Linked DNA regions of Homo sapiens: regions 2 and 3 are each linked to region 1. The links are contacts of gene promoters, found by promoter capture Hi-C in blood cells and fetal thymus (Javierre and others, 2016). All regions are on one chromosome and are shown on one strand. Each heading gives the region's core, a stretch centred on a gene start or on the middle of the fragment in contact. The rest is flanking DNA. Distances are from core to core; before and after follow the strand shown. Region 1 holds the start of STT3A-AS1 (STT3A antisense RNA 1). Region 2 overlaps FAM118B (family with sequence similarity 118 member B). Region 3 overlaps LOC107984406 (a long non-coding RNA gene).

Region 1 (3,617 bases), core at 292-2,791:
AGATTCATCACCTTATTTTTTTTGTCTTAGGAATATTCAAAATCCACTCTTCTAGCTATCTGAAAATATACAACAAATTGTGTATTTTTGTTGTTAATTATACTCCTAATAATAGTTATCCTATAGAACACTAGAATTTATTCCTATCTAGTTGTACTTGTGTATCCCTTAACAAACGTTTGTCTATCCTCCTCCATGAATCTTTTTTCCCACTATTATTGGAATAAAGGAGAAAAACAAAACAACAACAACACTGGACTAGGTGGAAGGCATATAGAATGCTAGCCCCAACACTGAGAAGTCAAGCATGTTCTCCATAATTAACTGTCCCAGAAGAGCAGTTTAGAAATGTGTTTAAGTATAGTCCCAAAGGGAAAGCTTACTTTGCAACTAAAAATAAAGGCCTAACTACTCCAGGAGGTCAACAATCCAGCCATATCTCTCAGGGTTTGCAGCTGTTTTCTGGAATGCCTGAAATAGGAACAAACTTAACACCACTGCGTTGATACGAGCCACACACCAAAATGAGACTGCTAGGATCTCTACTTGAAAACTTGAGTAAACGAGCTAGTCATTGAGGGCAGGGCCGTAAGGGAGATTTCATCTCGTGCTCTTTGGTCACTTTCGCACACCGCCAAGCAAATAAGAGCAAAGACACCTTTCTTAAAACACTTACCAACCTGCTCTCCTCAACTGTGCCCTGCAAGCTGTGGCATCTCCTGCCACCCTGCCTCTAGTTTCCCAGACTGCAATTTCCCCAGCCCCGTTTTCCTACACACGTTTCCACACCCTCTCACGATCTTTTACTCTCTTCTCCCTTCCGGTCGTTCCAGCGGGTCCCACCTCCCTCTTCTTCCCACCCTCAAAGAACTGACCACCTCTGATACCCCTCAGCGCGGGACACTCATCACCCCAGCATCCTACGCGCCTTCCCCTCCATAACTAGTCCCAGGACCCAGTCTTTCCCACGCTCTGTTCTCAAGACCCACCTTACCCTCCCTCCCTAGACCTTCGCATCCTTCCATCCAGGAAGCCCCCACACCACGCCCCACGCCCCCTCCTCTGCAAGGCCCTAAGCTCTGCTCTCCACCCCCATTTAGAGTTTTGCCTCCTGCACTTCGTTCAGCCCCATCAACGCCATGGACTGCACCTGCCGCTGATTTTCAAGTTACGTTCTACGGCCTTCTCACCTGGCCGGCTTTCCTAAACGATCCGCGGGGCTCCCTCAGCCATCCGTTCAGCGGCGCACCCAACCCTGGCAGGAGCCGGGTCCGCCTCCCGGACCGCTCCCCCGTTGGCTGGCTCCAGGCCAATAGGACGCTTCTGGAGAGCGATAGGGTCTCGGAACTGTCTGTCAAATCCGGAGGCGTAAACCGGGCCGCGATTCAAGTTTTTAATTGGTCATTACAGCTATCACTTAGCAGTCTAGAGGCAGGTCTGTATGCTCCCGCCGAGCTGTCATAGGCCGGCGCGTAGGAGTCAAGAGCGCGGAAAGAACGTGCCCCAAGCAGTTTGGTTGAGGGCCGAGGAGTGACGTGTCGGTTTGCGGACCCACGGGGAGTCGCAGTGGGAAGGCGCGGCCCACTGACTCCCGTCATGTGACAAGAAGCGGAAACTACGCTGAAATAGGCCCTTGCTCCAAGTCCCAGTAACTCGGAATGCGGAGCCGCTCGTCTCCCGTCTTTTTTAAGGTAGAAATTGTTACCTAATACAAGGTGAAAGGAGAGGAGGGAAGCATTTTCTACCTATTTATTCTCAATTAAAACTCAAACGCGGACTGGTCCAGACAGTTCGTCTTTTGCAGGATGTGCCTGATAGTTGACTCGAGCTTTTACTGTGCCTTGGTAACTGCGATGGACCTGGGAACCTTGACAGAGTTCACAGCCCCTGGTTTTGTGAAAGAGCGTGCCTAGGCCTAAAGGGGTTGTCGGGGCTAAGCTGGAAGCATTTCTACTGCCAGCTGAGACAGCCACCGCCGCGGAGGCACAGCCCTCCCCAGCAGCAAGCGGGCTTCCTCGGGAGACCGGGAGGCAGCCCGGCCATGCTTAGTCAGTTCAGCCCTTTGTTAAAATACCGGCCAGAGAGCCGCTCTCCCTATCCTAACTTGCCTCTCTTCTCTCGCACCCCACGCGCTCCCCGACCCCCAATAAGTTTGCTGAGGGCAGAGAAGGGGACGAAGTTTGAGCAGCAATTCCATCATCTCAGACTCGCACGTGTACACCTTTATCCTCAGGCACTTCCACTCCCTGCGCGCCTCGGTGAGCCAAGGCTACACCAGAGAGAGTGGGAACGTCTCGCAGCTCTTCGAACTTGTTGCCTCTACCACTCACGCAGTTTCCTATTCTCCCATGAACGGAACCCACCACTTATTGAAAGGTCATTATTTAAATCACTGCTTCAGAATCACATGCATTTTTTTCAAAATCCACATGACCAGGCTCGCCCCAGGACGTTATGATTCAATAGATCTGCTTTTTTTTGGTTTTGTTTTTAGTAGTAAGTGTTCGATGTAATTTTACTTTAACAAAAGGAAACTGAAGCTGAGCCTGAAGGAATTACAGAACTTGGAGTAAATGCTTCTTCAAAATACGAGTTTTGGTCGGGCGCGGTGGCTCACCCCTGTAATCCCAGCACTTTGGGAGGCCAAGGCGGGCGGATCACGAGGTCAGGAGGTAGAGACCATCCTGGCCAACATGGTGAAACCCGTCTCTACTAAAAATAGAAAAATTAGCTGGGCGTGGTGGCGCGTGCCTGTAATCCCAGCTACTCGGGAGGCTGACACAGAATCACTTGAACCAGGGAGTCGGAGGTTGCAGTGAGCCGAGATCGTGCCACTGCACTCCAGCCTGGCGACAGAGCTGGACTCCGTCTCAAAAAGAAGTTTTTTCTCTTTAAAAATAAAAAAGCGGGGAGGGGGGCATTAAAATTAGAAAGATTGTGTTCAAGTTTCTTTTGTTTTTTTTTAAGTATTAACCTAAGAATATTAAGGCCGGTCGCGGTGGCTCACGCCTGTAATCCCAGCACTTTGGGAGGCCGAGGCGGGTGAATCACCTGAGGTCAGGAGTTTGAGAACAGCCTCACCAACATGGTGAAACCCCATCTCTACTAAAAATACAAAAATTAGCTGGGCTTGGTGTCAGGATCCTGTAATCCCAGCTACTTGGGAGGCTGAGGCAGGAGAATCGCTTAAACCCAGGAGTTGGAGGTTGCAGTGAGCCAAGATCGCGCCATTGCACTTCAGTCTGGGCAGCAAGAGCGAAACTCCGTCTCAAAAAAAGAAAAAGAATATTAAGATGTTAGAGTTTTTATTAATTTTTTTCAAAGTAGGCCAGGCGCGATGGTGGGCTCCTGTAATCTCAGCTACTCAGGAGGCTGAGGCAGTAGAATTGCTTCAACCCAGGAGGCAGAGGTTGCAGTGAGCTGAGATCACGCCATTGCACTCCAGCCTGGACAACGGAGCAAGACTCTCCCACCAAAAAAAAAAAAAAAAGTATTAAACATGTTTCTTAGAATACATTTAAGCTTCCAAGTGATCAAATTAAGTAAACCTTTTCACAAGTCAAAATGTACTATTAAAAAACAAAGTTTGGGGCCGGGTGCAGTGGCTCACGCCTGTA
Region 2 (3,617 bases), core at 298-2,797, 660 kb before region 1:
TCTGGTACTCCCGACCTCGAGTGATCCACCCACCTTGGCCTCCCAAAGTGCTGGGATTACAGGCGTGAGCCACTGCACTTGGCCAGTAGTTTACTTTTTTATTTTTATTTTATTTTTGAGACAGAGTCTTGCTCTGCCACCTAGGCTGGAGTGCAGTGGCATGGTCTTGGCTCACTGCAACCTCCTCTGCCTCCCAGGTTCAAGCGATTCTCCTGCCTCAGACTCCCAAGTAGCTGGCATTACAGGCACCTGCCAGCACGCCCAGCTAATTTTCCTATTTTTAGTAGAGACAGGGTTTCACCATGTTGGCCAGGCTGGTCTGGAACTCCTGACCTCATGTGATCTGCCTGCCTCAGCCTCCCAAAGTGTTGGGATTACAGGCGTACTTTTTTAGATTTATGTGCCCAGAGGTCATTGTGCAAAGAGTAGGTCTTCATATATCTTAATCCTTCCATTTCTGGACCATATTTGCCTTTGTCTCACAAACTGAACTGTGAATCACCAGAGAAGATAATTCCATCATCGGATTTGCTCAAGGAAAGGCGTTTGATACTTAGAACATCAGTATGTGTGTGTGTGTGTATACATATACACACACAAAAACACAGAAATGACTGCCTAAGGGATCACTCAATGTCAGAGATGGATGCAGTTATGGCAGATGTTGGGAAAGAATGGGTAAAAAGAAAAAAAAGTCCCTTGTGCTTTAGACAATACATTTTCTCGGTCTTTTGCCTCATTATTAAAAGATGCTATAATCTATATGACCCAGTCCTGAAAACAGCAAACAAGATTCTTAGAGCTGGGGGCAGCGAATACTTCTGGTTTGAACATGTTTATCTGAACAAGTCGAAAATGTGCATCCCAAAAGATCAATAAGCTTTTCACAAAGAGTAAGTGTGAATAAATGTGGTTAATTCAATATAAGCCCATTGCCATTTATACAAAGTCTCTTTAGAATGTATTCTCTAGTAGTGGTTGGTTTGTTAAGAAGCTGCCTCAATTATTTCTGACACAGAGAGGGCTATTAATAAACCAAATGATGATAAAGGGTACTAATGTATCCTTTGTATGTGAAGATGATGCCAATGATGACATGCCATCTGCTGGTTGTCAATTAAGTACAAACAAAGATCATAGGGTTTGACACCTTAAGAGAAATTCTACATTTCCTAGACAGCATGCACACCCATAAGTTAAGAAGCACAGGAAGAACGTCTGACTTTCCAGTTTCTTTCTTTTTTTAGAGATAGGGCCTTGCTCTGTCACCCAAGCTGGAGTGCAGTGGCTCTAGACACAGCTCACTACAGCCTTATATTCCTAGTCTCAACTAATCTTCCTGCCTCAGCCTCCCAAGTAGCTGGGACAGCATGCACCATGATGCCTAGCTAATTTTATTTTTGTAAAGACAAGAGTCTCGCTATGTTGCCCAGGCTGGTCTCGAACTCCTGGCCTCAGGTGATCCTCTCCCCTTGGCCTCCCAAAGTGTTGGGATTATAGGCATGAGCCACTGCTCCTAGCCCCTGACCTTCCGTTTTCACTTAATGAAAAGAAGATGTTCCCCTTTAAGATCTATGGCATATTTAGAGAGATTTCCCAGGAAGGAGTTCCTGAGACCAGCAAGATCAGCCCCACTCACCATGACTTCAGTGTTCCTGAGCACGTTCTGATATCCAGCCGGATGAAGGACAATGCCACTAGGGTTGGTGTAGACTCCGTGAATATGCAACACGCTCAGCTTACGCTTCTCCTGAGCCCACTCGAGGACCTGCACAACACACATATAGCCCAACCAGCTTGGCAGGGCTGAGCACCTGTTTAAAGGTCACAATGGGCAAGAGGCTGTTTTGAGGACTAGACTTCTGACATAAACTCTCTAGCTTCATGATATAGGACAAGAATGCAAAACCTGATGTGGTCTAAGTTTCCACTTCAGGAATGACTGTCAAGAATGATGGCAACAAATTTGGTGATTTCTCTTTGAAAGTAAGCATCAAAAATCACAATTTGTCATAATTTGCAGAAACAACAGGGACCCTTTGCACTGGTGGCATGCATGAGAGCTATGGACAACTGCTTCAGTGATCGCCCCAAGAAATCAAGCCTCTGTATCCAGGCCCTTGTGTGGCCCCTCTTCGGAGTGACTCCAGGCTAACCACATGGCTTGCTTTTAGCCAATGGGATACTAGCAAACACACACAAGCAGAAGCTTGAAAAGTGTTGGCACAAGAAGTCTTACTTCTCTTGTGTTACTTTTGGAATCCAGCTGCCATGCGAAGAAAGTGAAGAAGCCTGGGCTAGCCTGCTGGGACATATATGGCCTGGCCAATTGCTTGCAGGGAAGTATGGTCCCCTTATATCACTCAGCCCTGGTGCGGCCATCAGATGTCTGCAGGTATGTGAAGAGGGTGCAAAAATCAGCAGAAAAAATGCCTGGCTGAGTCACTGAGCCCAGTTCAAATTGTTAATATACTTTATCATGGGCAGATAAGATATTTGTTGTTACAAGCCACAAAGTTTCACGGCCATTACTTGTACAGCAATAGATAAGTGATAGAAAAATCACTTCAGTCACCTCTGAGGAACCTAAAAGGCTGCCAGCGAAGAACAATCATTTAGACAACAGCGAATGCAATAGCCACCTGATTCCATGGCTCCATTTTCCCAAGGACTGGAGACAGCATACATTTATTCTTATCACATTTTGGAGAAATAGGCTATGAATCAGGAAAGTAGTCAAGAGGCACCGAGATTTAGAATTTGAATGTTACTAGGCCCCATTCTGACTACCAGTCAATGTCTTTAACCATTAGACTGCAACACTGCCCCTAATGTGGGCTGAAAATACAATGCAAATCTTGAGGCCCAAGGATGAAATGAGAAGGAAAACATCAAATGTGATAGATATCCTCAGCTTTTAAAAGGTCCTTATGCTTCTGATATCCATGAACACACTTGGTCATAATCTTTGGAAATTTTATCACAAATAGCATAGAAGCTGCTAGTTTTAAAATTTCAATCATTTGTTTGTTTGTTTTTAGACAGAGTCTTGGTCTGTTGCCCAGATTGGAGCACAGTGGCGCAATCTTGGCTCACTGAAACCTCTGCCTCCTGGGTTCAAATGATTCTCCTGCCTCAGCCTCCCAAGTAACTGGGATTACAGGCGTGCACCACCACTCCCAGCTAGTTTTTGTATTCTTAGTAAAGACGGGGTTTCACCATGTTGGACAGGCTGGTCTCAAAATCCTGACCTCAAGTGATCCACCCACCTCGGCCACCCAAAATGCTGGGATTACAGACGTGAACCACTGTGCCCAGCCTATTTATTTAGAGACATGATCTTATGCTGTCACCCAGGCTGGAGTGCAACAGTGTGATCACAACTCACTGTAGCCTCGACTGCCTCAGCTCAATCGATCGTCCTGCTTCAGCCTCCCAAGTAGCTGGGACCACAGGCAAACACCACCATGCCCGGCTAATTTTTAAACTTTTTGTAGAGATGGGGTCTTGCTATGATGCCCAGGTTGGTCTTGAACTAGGCTCAAGTGATCCTCCCGCCTCAGCTTCCCAAAGTGCTGGGGTTACAGGCCTGAGCTGCTGTGCCCAGCCCAATCATT
Region 3 (3,617 bases), core at 575-3,074, 650 kb after region 1:
ATGGACACCTTAAAAAGTTAAAATGATAAACTGTATATTTTATATATTTTACCACAATAAAAATAAATGGAAATAGATTTTATTTTAAAAAAAGCAGTAAGGCTTTCTAGATAACTATTTGGAGAAAGCCAAGTTATTCATTTGTGTGTGTTCAGCTATGATTATTTAAATTATCTACTATTAATAGTCACATTCTCTATATCCCAAATCTTTGGGGATAGCATATTACAGTGGAGAAAGGGGTTTTAGAGCTAAACTTGGGTTTATGTTCCAGTTCTGCAATTTACTATCTGTGGTCAAGTCACATTATCCAAGTCTTTATTTCTAGATATGTAACATATGTAATAACAATTGACCCTTGAGGGTTTGTTTGTGTTTTGTGAGAAGTAATGTTACATATGTAAAATATATCATGCATAATAGACTTTCAGTAAATGCTTGCTAACTTTTTTTTAGGAAGCAAGATAGAGTCATAAAACCTTAGAAGATTTTGATTTGTCTTCCCAGCATCCCTTCTCCCGCTTTTTCTAGTAATGGCCCCACCTGTGACTGTGGGGTTAAGTACATGGCCCAGCCTGGGATAGTGTTCTAGTCTCCTTGCTACAGTGATTGATCCAGAGCTGTGCATGTGACCTAAGCCATGGCCTTTTGCCAAGATTATTTTTTAACTAGTTCCATCAAGAGTCTTCTTCTCCTGCCCGCATGACAAGCTGCACTGTCCAATATGTTAACCACTAGATACATGTGTTAAGTTTAATTACAATTAAATGAAATTTATAATGTATTTCCTCAGTCCCACTAGCCACACGGGGCTAATTAATGGCTACTATATTTGACAGCACAGATATAAAATACTGTCTTATTTCCAATTATTCCTGCTCCCTGAAAAATTTTGTTACATAATGCAAGAAATTCTTCCCTTTTTGCTTCAGATAGTTCCAGTTGAACTTCAGTCACTTACAATCAAATGATCTTGACAAATCACATTCCTTAGTTTGTCGGGCCACAAACCAGATGCAGAATCTTGGAGGCCTGACTTTGGCATGGATCTTTAAACTAGACAAAGCCAAATCCTGTAAGTACTGCAACAAGGGGAAAATTGGGGGCTGTCTTCAAGACACCTCTGCTGACAACTTAGCTAGGGCCTCCTTTTAAGAAATGTGGTCCCTCCCCATATTGAATCCTGTGTATCACAAATCTATCTTCTTAGTGTCCCTGGCCTAACCTGTGGGGGCCCAGTTTCCCTTGCTTACTAAGCTTTTTTTTTTTTTTATGGTCCTGTCACCTGCCTGATCCCTTTTCTCACATCTTGTCTCAGAACTCTCCTTTTCCTACTTAGTTTTTACTTCTGGGCCTGGCTGAAGGCAACCTCTTTCAGGGGTACAGCATTATGAACACTAGACAGGAAGCACAGCTGAGTCTAAGCTGTGCCAACTTGCAAATGTGAAGGAAACCTCTTTCAGGGGTACAGCATTATGAACATTAGACAGGAAGCACAGTTGAGTCTAGGCTGTGCCAACTTGTAAAATGTGTGACTTGGAGCAGGTTATTTAACCTCTCTAAGCTTCATGATCCTCCTTGAAAAATGGAAAAAAAAATCCCACTGCACAGCGTTGTTAGAAGGCTAAATAAAATAATATTCTAAAAGATAATTTGTAAAGGGCAATGCAAATGTTTTATCAATTATACTTGCTTATAGATGTAGGTGCAGCCTTCCCAGCTATAATATATTTCAGCTCCTAGACAGGGATCCAGGGATGGTGTCGTCTATTACTTTTGAATGTGCCGCCTTCCTCCTCTTCCACATCCCACCACTTTTATTAATGTTTGGAACATAGAGTGTTCTTCACACAGTAGGCAATTATCAGATGCTGGCCAGCTGATTCCCATTTCTGAGCCTCCCTCTTTGGTAGGAGGGTGAACGACGGCAGAGGGCAGCGAATCCTTCCCCTGACACGGTTGGTGGGTGGACACCATCTGAGGATCTAGGAGAAGGGAAACAGTGAAGGCTTTCATGAGTTGGGGTGTAATTTGTGGCTTCCCCATGATTTTTCAACCTGTTTGTATTTAAGCACTGAAGCTTTACAAGAACAGAACTCCAGAGATATTCTCCAGAATGTCCTTGCTGCATCTTAAATAGGTCAGCAAAAGCTGGATCTTTCCAGCCCTTTAATACCAATTAATTTCTCCTCTTTGTTCCTCTGGAGAGTGGCTGAATAGAGCACGTTTAGCAACCATGGACACAAGCCTGAGTCCCTCTCACTTTCTGAGGAGGCCGGAATTCTATTCAAAAATCAAATATTTACTCTCAGTATAAAAGACTTTGATGTTCTCCTGTTTTCAGCAGAGAAATGGGAGCCCCTCCTTGCTGCCCTTCCAAAATTTACCCAGGACCCCATGCCACTCCCAGGATCATGTATTTCTCCCAACAAACTCCACATCTTGTGGAGACACCATATCTCTGCAGAACCCTTTTCATCTGAGTAACTCTTCATGTTTACAGAAATCTGCAGCCAGCAAAACCAATTTCAGGATGAAGGAGCCTTTTGACTCCATTTCTACTTTCTATTTGATGTTTTTCTGAGGCCCCCAGAGTAGGGCCACCTAGGAGAACTTTAGAAAGAGAACGAATAGAAAAGAAAATGTTCTTGGGGAGGGCCATTCCTCACTGTCCAGGCATACAGAAAGCTTGTTTTGTTCCGAAGGGAGCTAGCTAATCTGTCTCTTATTCAGAGCTTGCTGTAGGAGCTGGGCCCTGCCTCCTCTCAACACAAAGCCTCATACAATCTCGTTGTTTCCCAGGCAATGTGCTGCAGCTCTACAAATTCTCTGGCTGGTGTTTGCCTCCTGCGTCCTCTGTCCATTAGGAGAAATCAAACTTATGGTAGAGACAACACCAGTACCATTTGCATATAGATTTATACAACAAAAAATAAAAATGAAAATAACTTCATCACTAGGCCAGGCACAGTGGCTCATACCTGTAATCCCAGCAGTTTGGGAGGCCGAGGTGGGTGGATCACGAGGTCAGGAGTTCAAGACCAGCCTGGCCAAGATGGTGAAACCCTCCAACCTGGGTGACAGAGTGAGACTCCATCTCAAAAAAAAAAAAAAAAAAAGAAAGAAAGAAAGAAAGAAAGAAAGAAAGAAAATACCTTCACCAATACTAGAAGGCCCAAGGAGTGGGGAGAGAGGGCTGCTTCATATCCAGAGCTTAGTCAGGGAGTAGGTCCTGGAGGGTAAAAGCTTATACCAGGAGGAGGAATTCCTACTGGTGCATTAGGGGTTGGTCAAACCCTAAGCTTTTTTGGTGATCTGTCTGGGATCCAATCCAAATTTTGTCACTTAACAGCTATATGACTTCAACAAGCTGCTGACCTCTCAGAAGTTTGTTTTCTTGTTTGTAAGATGGGGTTGGAAGAAATAAATAAGCAAATATCTATATATATAGTGGTTGACACAGTCAAATGCAGAGTAGCACTTTCTCTCTTTCTCTCTCTCTCACACGCACACATATATATATAGAGAGAGAGAGCAGTTAGAAGAGGGAGGTAAGAAGCCTCAGAAATTAATATCTCCTTACCCCTCAGAAGCAGCCCCTTAGCTCATATCTGATG

What was found. Contacts are between HindIII fragments. The CHiCAGO score rates a contact against its expected background, and 5 or more counts as called.
Region 2: a fragment that was not itself captured here is called in contact with the fragment with the promoter of STT3A-AS1 in region 1 in 3 of 17 cell types (non-activated CD4 T cells, naive CD8 T cells and M2 macrophages); the score reaches 10.1 in non-activated CD4 T cells.
Region 3: a contact is called between a fragment that was not itself captured here and the fragment with the promoter of STT3A-AS1 in region 1, in 1 of 17 cell types (naive CD8 T cells). The highest score is 5.7, in naive CD8 T cells.

The regions. Positions count from the first base shown.
Region 1 is chr11:125,590,492-125,594,108 of GRCh38, reverse strand. STT3A-AS1 (STT3A antisense RNA 1) reads left to right here and starts at 1,541. Exons shown (of 4, transcript NR_132372.1): 1 at 1,541-1,691. STT3A (STT3 oligosaccharyltransferase complex catalytic subunit A) reads right to left here and starts at 1,257. Exons shown (of 18, transcript NM_152713.5): 1 at 1,191-1,257. RefSeq lists enhancers at 1,391-1,985, 2,103-2,272. The HindIII fragment of the contact is 3,144 bases long and covers 381-3,524 here.
Region 2 is chr11:126,252,456-126,256,072 of GRCh38, reverse strand. FAM118B (family with sequence similarity 118 member B) reads right to left here. Exons shown (of 9, transcript NM_024556.4): 6 at 1,640-1,768. It also overlaps a transcript of SRPRA not described here. Among named protein-coding and RNA genes, the nearest start is that of SRPRA, 15 kb to the left of the region's middle. The HindIII fragment of the contact is 1,329 bases long and covers 883-2,211 here.
Region 3 is chr11:124,941,768-124,945,384 of GRCh38, reverse strand. It overlaps LOC107984406 (a long non-coding RNA gene), which reads right to left. Exons shown (of 2, transcript XR_001748429.3): 2 at 1,795-1,985. Among named protein-coding and RNA genes, the nearest start is that of HEPACAM, 7.5 kb to the right of the region's middle. The HindIII fragment of the contact is 516 bases long and covers 1,567-2,082 here.